Linked DNA regions of Homo sapiens: regions 1 and 2 are each linked to region 3. The links are contacts of gene promoters, found by promoter capture Hi-C in blood cells and fetal thymus (Javierre and others, 2016). All regions are on one chromosome and are shown on one strand. Each heading gives the region's core, a stretch centred on a gene start or on the middle of the fragment in contact. The rest is flanking DNA. Distances are from core to core; before and after follow the strand shown.

The links. Contacts are between HindIII fragments. The CHiCAGO score rates a contact against its expected background, and 5 or more counts as called.
Region 1: a fragment that was not itself captured here is called in contact with the fragment with the promoter of TMPRSS7 in region 3 in 5 of 17 cell types (M2 macrophages, erythroblasts, M1 macrophages and 2 more); the score reaches 7.7 in M2 macrophages.
Region 2: a fragment that was not itself captured here is called in contact with the fragment with the promoter of TMPRSS7 in region 3 in 1 of 17 cell types (fetal thymus); the score reaches 5.5 in fetal thymus.

Annotation. Positions count from the first base shown.
Region 1 is chr3:111,667,297-111,669,996 of GRCh38, forward strand. No RefSeq gene overlaps it. Among named protein-coding and RNA genes, the nearest start is that of PLCXD2, 6.0 kb to the right of the region's middle. RefSeq lists an enhancer at 639-688. The HindIII fragment of the contact is 1,694 bases long and covers 593-2,286 here.
Region 2 is chr3:111,688,075-111,690,803 of GRCh38, forward strand. All of the region lies in intron 1 of PLCXD2 (phosphatidylinositol specific phospholipase C X domain containing 2), which reads left to right. Among named protein-coding and RNA genes, the nearest start is that of PLCXD2-AS1, 12 kb to the left of the region's middle. The HindIII fragment of the contact is 2,682 bases long and covers 30-2,711 here.
Region 3 is chr3:112,033,284-112,036,088 of GRCh38, forward strand. TMPRSS7 (transmembrane serine protease 7) reads left to right here and starts at 1,453. Exons shown (of 18, transcript NM_001395507.1): 1 at 1,453-1,610. The coding sequence starts at 1,563. The HindIII fragment of the contact is 8,291 bases long and covers 1-2,805 here.

The sequences.
Region 1 (2,700 bases), core at 190-2,689, 370 kb before region 3:
GGGCTCTGGGGAGTGTGCATTTACTCAGCTCCATGATTAGGGCACATCTGGCGCAAGAGTTGAGAAGCTTTGCCCTCGGGCCGCACACACATCAATCCTACCACTGTGGAGGTGATGGAGGCACTAAAGGTGACTTCCATCCAGGTCATTCATACTTCCCACTCTGAGAGCTTCATTATGTGTTTTCTGAGCCTGACTGCCTGAGCTAAGCGCATCTCATCCTGGGTGCTGAATGCGGGGAGAGGGTAGAGAAAATGTTGAGGTGTCCCCAGAGGCTAGAACGTGTTACCAGTATAAAGGTACTCCCCAAAACACAATCTCAAGCTTTTGCTGGTAGCCGCATGATTTTAGAATATTAGGTCCATATTTATATAGAAGTTCTGTTAGTCCTGACTACAGCAAATGAAGTCAAAGATTTGAGTGAGGAAAGGCAATAAAAAGGAAAGAAAGGCTTAACTGTGCAAAGACAAAAGGTATCTACAGCAGGCAGAGGGAAAAAAACAGAGTACGGTTGGAAAGACCGTGAAGTTCATGTAGTTCAATCAAGCATCAGGTGCTTCAATTCTATCATGTTACTGTCTTATTGGTGCCAAGCTTGGCTTGGATGCTTCCAGTTATAGGAACTCACTTCCTCCTCTACTTCATTATATTGCTTAACTCTGACTTCTAGAATATTCTCCTTTATACTTGGCTGAAACAGAAAGATGTGTGGCATAAATTTTACTTTCTCTTTTACTTCTGCTACTCAAAGGAAGAGGAAGCTGTGGGTGCAGATGTTGCTAAGATAAACTACAACTTCCTCCATGACCAGTTTCTGCAGTTTAGGAAGGGCAGAGCCGAACACGTGGCTGAGTTGGGGAGTTAACTACAGACACTTAAGCAAATCAGAATCCTTTGAAACAAAATCATCAAAAGGCCAAGAAGCATTTGTAAGGGCTTTTGACTACAACCTAACATTCAGAGAGAGTTGATCAGAGAGAGTTGTTGACACACTAAAAATTCATTACTTTTATTTACATTGAAATTTATTTACTTTATTAAAAAATATTTTTGTTGGTTAAGGTTGTTTGTACAAACTTGTAATTTTAATATTTAAAAAGTTGGAAGAGAATGATAGTATTAGGTAATGATAATATTACTAATTTTTACTCCATGGATGAGGTGGCATCATGCTATTTCCAATTGATAGTGGCACACCAAATTGCAGAGTCATGTTGTTAAAAGAATGCATTCCCAAGATTAGATTGGTTAAATGATAACAAATGCACAGAGGTCATTCTGTTGTGACTGAAGCTCAAGTGATTACTAATATACACATTAATACAACAATGTCTCCTAATAATAGACATAATTCTCATAATTCTAGGAACCTTGGGGTGGGGTGGTAGCCTGGAGAAAAAAAAGGTAAGGGTGGCAGATCAATTGATTTTCCTGCTAGTTGAGATCAACTATCTCTGCCAAAATAGTCTTCCTAATTGCATAAAGTTATATGCAGCATGGATAAGAATTGTTTACTCTGCCATTCTACCTATTTTAACTTTTTTAAAAAAGAGAAATTTGTTGACATTTCAAAGCCTTCATCTCAAACATTTGAGACATAAAAATCCCCTGAGGAGAACATTTTAAAGACAGGAGGAAAAGATGCCATCCCAGAGGATCTGATGCAGGAGGGTTGGCATTTGATCCAGAAATCTGTATATTGCATAAACTCCTAGTTGTTCCTGTTGCTGGTGATCTACAGGCATTTTTAGGAATAATTGACACTGACAGAACATATTATACGTGCCTGAAGTGAGCCTTGAATACCAGTAGGTGGCTCTATAACATCTTAAATCAGGGACTTTGCAGCTAACTAGCTAACTAGCTAGAAAATAAAGGCTCTGAGGCCTTTATTTCCTCTCAATTTCCTTTTCAGGGATTGGAGGTGGCGTGGGAAGGAGAAATGGAAGAGGATGCTGGAATGTGGTGTGGTAGACGGAAATGAATGGATATTAAAATGAATTTTACAATCATCACTTGTTAGTAGCCCTCTCAAAAGTATTATAGTAACGACTACTGTTAAAATAAATTTTCTGAAAGCATACCAGAAAAACTTAATGTCCAATAAACTTAAAAGGCACAGAGGCTCTTAGGGTCTTCCTGAACACCGAGCTTTCAAATCTGGGAGAAACAATCTTATGGCCAGCCATTGCTGCCGTTCACTCTTGTCTCATTACAGAATCCCAGTTGTGGGCCATAAATACCAAGTGGGCATGAGGTAATATAGACAACGCTACTTCCTGCTTAAGCTTCTGCTTCTCTTCTACCCAGTTTCTCAAGGACACACCACCTGGGTATAATCCGGGAATGGTCACAGTAAAAATGACAAAACAATAGTCTCCGGCTCTACCCCAATCAACAAAATAAGTGGATCCCAATCCTCTGTCTTCTGATGTCAGGAATGTGTAAGTTGTATCATGTGTCCACAAGTGTGTGCCTCAGTGTCTCCATTTCCTTGGAGGCTCCTGAAGATCCCCAGTTGCTGCAATGATGTCACTCTTCCTGGAGGTAATTGCTGCTGCTGTCGTCACGTCCCAGCACCACCTATGTTGGTTGCATCTCCTCATTCTCCTCTGATCTTTATCATACAGTCTTTTGGCTTGAGCTGGGTGAAGAAGCTTGGGAAAGACTAGGAATAAACTCTACTGGTACGAGGCCATA
Region 2 (2,729 bases), core at 121-2,620, 350 kb before region 3:
TATTAATAGTTGCATGACCTTGAGTAAAAAGCTTTACCCCTCTGTCTGTTAGTTTTTTCATCTGTAAAATTGAGATAATTATAATATCCACTTCAAAAGTGCAAAGTTAGAGGAAGCACAAGCTGGAAGACTACCCTCACTCTGATACCAGTTACAGGTTTGGGAGCCTTAAGATCACCCTTGTTTGATAATTTGCTAGGAAGATTGACAGAACTCATTGAAAGTTGTTATACTCATAGTTACTGTTTATTGCTCTGAAAGGCTGCAGATCAAAATCAGCTAAAGGAAGAGGTGCATGGAGCAAAGTTCAGGAAATTTCCAAATGTGGAGCTTCCAGTTGTCCTCTTCTCATGGACAGTGTTTCTTTCCTCGTATTGATGTGTGACAGTACCACACAAAGTACTGCTAACCAGGGAAGCTCACCTGAGCTTTGGTGTCCAGAATCTTTTCTGGTCTTCCACATGGCTGACCTAAGTATCCAGCCCCTTCAGAGGTTAAGCCCATGCCCATGTGACTCAAATCCTGCACCATAAATCACATCCTTATACTTTCCCTTATGGCCCAAAGCTGTCAGGTAAATAAAGATACTTTGATCAGGCAGGACATTCCAAGGGCTTAAGCAATTGCCTCCCAAGGACTGAGGGCGAAGACCATACCTCCTTTTGGGTAAGGTTTAAATTTTTTACTACACAACAAAGTTACTTAAGAATTAAATTTCAAAAAAGAATTAAACAAGATAAATGTAAATTAACTTTAAAAAAAGAATTAAATAAGATATACAATGTGATTAGAATATTGCCAATTATGAAATAAATATGTTATATATATATATAGCTATTATTATTAAACATCCTTTTGATTACTTAATATATACCTAATATCATAATAGCTACTGTGGGACATTTTTAAAAAATGAACAAGATGTAGTTTGTAGATCTTATAAGAGATATACAAGAGTTCAAATAAAGTAAATAAAAGCAGAATGAGGTGAGTACCATGATAAAGAAACAAGCAAACTGTGCTGGGACCTGGAAAGGGAAAGGTTACTTCTAGTTGGTGGGTAAGGAACTGCTTCAGGAGAAGAGCACCTGTGAGCTGGACTGTGAGAGACAGGGAGGATTTCAACATGAAGAGGGAAGGACATTCCAGAGACAGGGAAGCAAATGCCCAAAATTAGAGATGAGAAAACAAGGGCACCTTCAGGAAACAGAGAAGGGCTGCCATGGTCACCTGTAGAAGTGACAGGAGAAGGAAATGGGAAAGTTACGGAAAGACAGACAAGCCAGTTGGAGAGAGATTTTCAGCACTGTGCTAAGCACTTTATGCTTTGTGTTGTAGACCATAGGGAGCCAGTGACAATTTTGGGCTTGAAGAAAACTGTGAAAGAAAGTGTTCTATCCCTGTTATAATTCCAGTCTTTGAACACCCTCCCTTCCAATAACCCACCTTCGCTTTGCCTCGCCAATTACAGTTCAGTTCAGGTATGACCTCTGTGCACATTTCCATTATAGGACATGATATACCCCATTGGGACTGTTTCTCTCTGCTGTATACAACTGTTTTGTCATTTCTGTATACTTGCTGTCTTGTTCAGAATAAGCACCTTATGATAAAAGTGGAGGGAAAGAAGAAGGAGGGGAAAGATGGAATCTTGAAATATATCTACAAAGAATTTAAGCATAAAAAACAGATATTTAAAAATCTATATTTCTAGTTAAGGAGAAACTAGGACAGGCAGGAAGCAAGTAGTAACGCCTAAGGTAAGACAAAATCTTATAACTGCATTGCAGTCTTCTCAAGATGCCTCAAGGCTTTAAGAGTAAGAACAAGTATAATAATAATAAAAGAAGCAGAAGAAAGATAGCTTGCTCATTTAATATTTATATAGCACTTCCTAGGGGACCGATATTGCTGTTTGATTTATATAAAGCCAATTAATTATTATAATAAATTAATGATGTAGATACTCCTACTATCCCCATTTTACAGATGAAGAAATTCAGTCACAGAGAGGTTAAGCAGATGGCCCCCCAAAATCCTGATAACAATACTAGAATTGTAAAAATTAGGTCATGCCAAATTCATTTAATTGCATTTGAATAAAAGTCATTGATAGAGTTGGAGATTGACCCAGTGTTGGGTTGTAACTTTAGTTTCTTTTGTTGGTTGTAATAAAGGGTAATTTTCTTTTCATCTGAGGCCATTTGCTCCCATGTCGGGACTCTAATGCATGAGCACCCATGAGGATGGTGATGTTTGAAGGACTACATGCTGACCTGTTCTGGCTGAACAAGTTACATTTTTTTTTTCAAGACCAGACATCTAGGAGGCTTTTTATTGACTCAGAACAAAAGCAGCCCAGTGGTTTAAGTGGTCTATGTAGTAATCACCCAGCAAGGCTCCGGCACAGAAAAAAATCTATCTGGCCTCTATTCTGCCTCTACACAGAAAGACCAGCATGAGGCTTTAGCAGGTGTGTAAGCTCTCAGAACACTGGTCTTCAAGGGTGGGGTGTGTTTTCATTCACTTTCCCCGTTGGGTGTAATGTACAAATTCCCTTTAAGCCCACCATTTCATGTAATTTAAACTGCTACTTACTGGATTTTCTCTCCTCCCTTTTCCCTTTCCTCTGTCAGAACACCTAGCTTAGGCCTTTATTTACAGGAAAGAGAAAAAAACCTCTTCTTATCCTGGAGGGGAACTAGCTAAGAAGCTTCTCTGTATCTCAT
Region 3 (2,805 bases), core at 203-2,702:
AATGAAGAGAGTGAGGGGGTCCATGGTTGGAAAATTACTAAGGGGAAACACCAAGGGGCATCCTTGCTAAACTGACCAATCAGGATTCTTGTTACAGGCAGCCAAGGACTTACATATCAAGGGTAGGGGATAAAGAACTTGATCAGATATCAAGGGTATTTCAAGGCCACTCTTGAATCAAAAAAAAAAAAAAAAAAAAAAAGAAAGAAAGAAAGAAAGAAAAGAAAAAGAAAGCAAAATCAAGGGTGATCAGATATCAAGGCGGGGGGATTCCTGCTAAACTGACCAGATGGGCCAAAGACAAGGCCCAAGGACAAGGTCTAGTTGAAAAGAGAGCTCAGAGTAACCTGACAACACTTTGGTCAAGAAGAGAGTCTTTGTCAATGGCCACCGATAAGTATACAAATTTTACTTATATTGGTGAAATATGAGTTAGTTCTAGAAATAGGTAGAGAAATAATACTGGAAAGATGAGCCATTAAAAGTAATATTATAAAGTCTAAACCATTATTAATAATTTCATCAATGTGAATAATAAATAACAAAACCCAAGAGGCGAATTTGTACATGACTTAATTCTTTTTTTTTTTTTTTTTTTTTTTTTGTTATTCTGTCTCATCTTCCCCAAGTTAGATCAAATTTCAGGTATGAAGCAACTCAACTAATCTTTCCCCACTTTCAGCAGGCAGTTTCTCACTTGCCATATGCACAGCCCGTGAATGATGCTGAAGTTTGTGTCTGGATCAGCAGAACAGTGTTTCTCCTTTAAAGCGTGACAGATCAGCTTTCTGTTGACACCCAGTGCCCACAGGGTGATGAGGTTCCAGCAATCCCTGCCTTTTTCTCCCCGTCTGCTAAGAGAAATTCTGACACTGCCCCTCAGGATTGGATTATTCTTCCCACCATGGATCTAATTCAGATTGACATTGGGAAGTATGGGAGAGATGGAAACAGGGGCTTTACAGCAGAAAGGGCCCCAGGTTTACTGAGGACTGACTGCAAGAAGTAGGGGGAGCTAAATGGAAAAAAGTCCCTTTGGATTATGAGTTCTCAGAGAGTATGGCTGGAGAGTTGAGAGCAGGACTGAAGAGTGAGTCTCCTGGAGCAGGCAAGAGATGCCACGCAAGAGAAATGAGGTGTGAGGACTTCTCAGATGTGGTGCTGAGGGTTGTAAATTAGACCTCTTCATATTCTTTAGGAGATGCAAGAAAAAAATTATAATGATTTTTAAATGTTACTGGATTGTAGGATTGTGTTTCTTATAAGAAAACCTTGCCTTGAGGCTGGCTGTACTCTGAGAGGCCTGACTCCTATGAAAGTTACATTGAGAATCCTTGAGTTTGGGGTGCAAAGCTGAGTGCTAGGTCCCTTTAACATTTACAATATAGCAATGAGGCGGCTTCAGTTTCTGAACTGAACCCGGTGGAGGTAAATTGATTCCACTCCTCTGAAAGCTAGCTTGAATGCGGTGACGGTTCTCTCAATTCTTCTCAAGAGAGCATATAAGGGGCAAAAACTGGCTTTGAGACACCCCTGGATGATCACACACAAAACGCCTAATAATGGACAAAGAAAACAGCGATGTTTCAGCCGCACCTGCTGACCTGAAAGTAAGTACAGGGTGAGAAACTTTCTCTTACTTGAATGCCATTTATTGTTGACCCTGTTAGTAAAATGAGATTGTATGACCTTATAAACATAAAGGAAACAATAATAAAATATTTTATCTTCTTATGGTAATTAATGGGTTTTACAAATGTGAGCTTATTATAAAGTGCTGTACTTGGCAATTGATTTGTAGCCGTTTTTCTAAAACTCCAGGGAAATTGTACTGATCTCTACACAAATTCCATTTTAAAATTTAATCAGTGCTAACTGAGACTGCCTATAATGTGTTTCTGCACTTAAAAGATCCAAACTTGGCTTTGTCAGTTCAACATGTACTGGCATTTCTGCGTGTTTCTTTATTTCTTTTGGGGGAGCACTTGAAAGTAGCTTGATACCATCGACAACTCATTCTACAATGGAATGTTTCTCTCTTTAGAAACCCAGTCCTCATTCCTGCAGGACACCACATTAAATGATGTCTGGTCTAGTTCAATTTCACCAGAAAGGATACAAGCAACACTTCACTCCAGGGGTTGACAAGGTGTTTGGCAAAAAGAATGAAGGGGCCATGAATAATTCAGAGTGTACGTGGCCACGTATTATCCCATTAATTGGCAAGATTAAAGACTGGAGGGCATGAATTTTGAAGAGAAGAGTGAGGGAGAGGAAAAGAGAAGGAGAGAACTCTTAAGGACAGTGCAAAAGAGAGATTATTTCTTTGGCATTGGCATTCCATATTGTTGCCTTTAAAAGAATGTGTGGTTAAAAGCTATTTCGTCTCTGGAGTTTAGTTACCCTGACTTGTATAAATCTCTCCTTAAATGAAGCTAAACTCTTGAATACATTATTAAAGAATTCACAGCATCAAATAGCAGAGGGTAGACAAGAAAATAAAAGAGGAGGAAGGGAAACAATTAAATAATGTATTTTTTACTCTTGCACATAACACTATGCACATCAATACACTTAAACCAACAATTTTCTAATCTAATGAGTGTTCTATTTCATTCTTCCATTTACTTTTAAATAATTATTTCATTTATAATTGAGAAACTGTGGCTGGCAATGGCAGCGGCTGGCAATGGCAAAACAAACATATTTAATTCCTATAAACCCACAACCCTACAACCGTATGTAAACACACATGCTTTACGAACAATTTGTGCAGTTACAAATTGCACAAATTTGTACAATCTA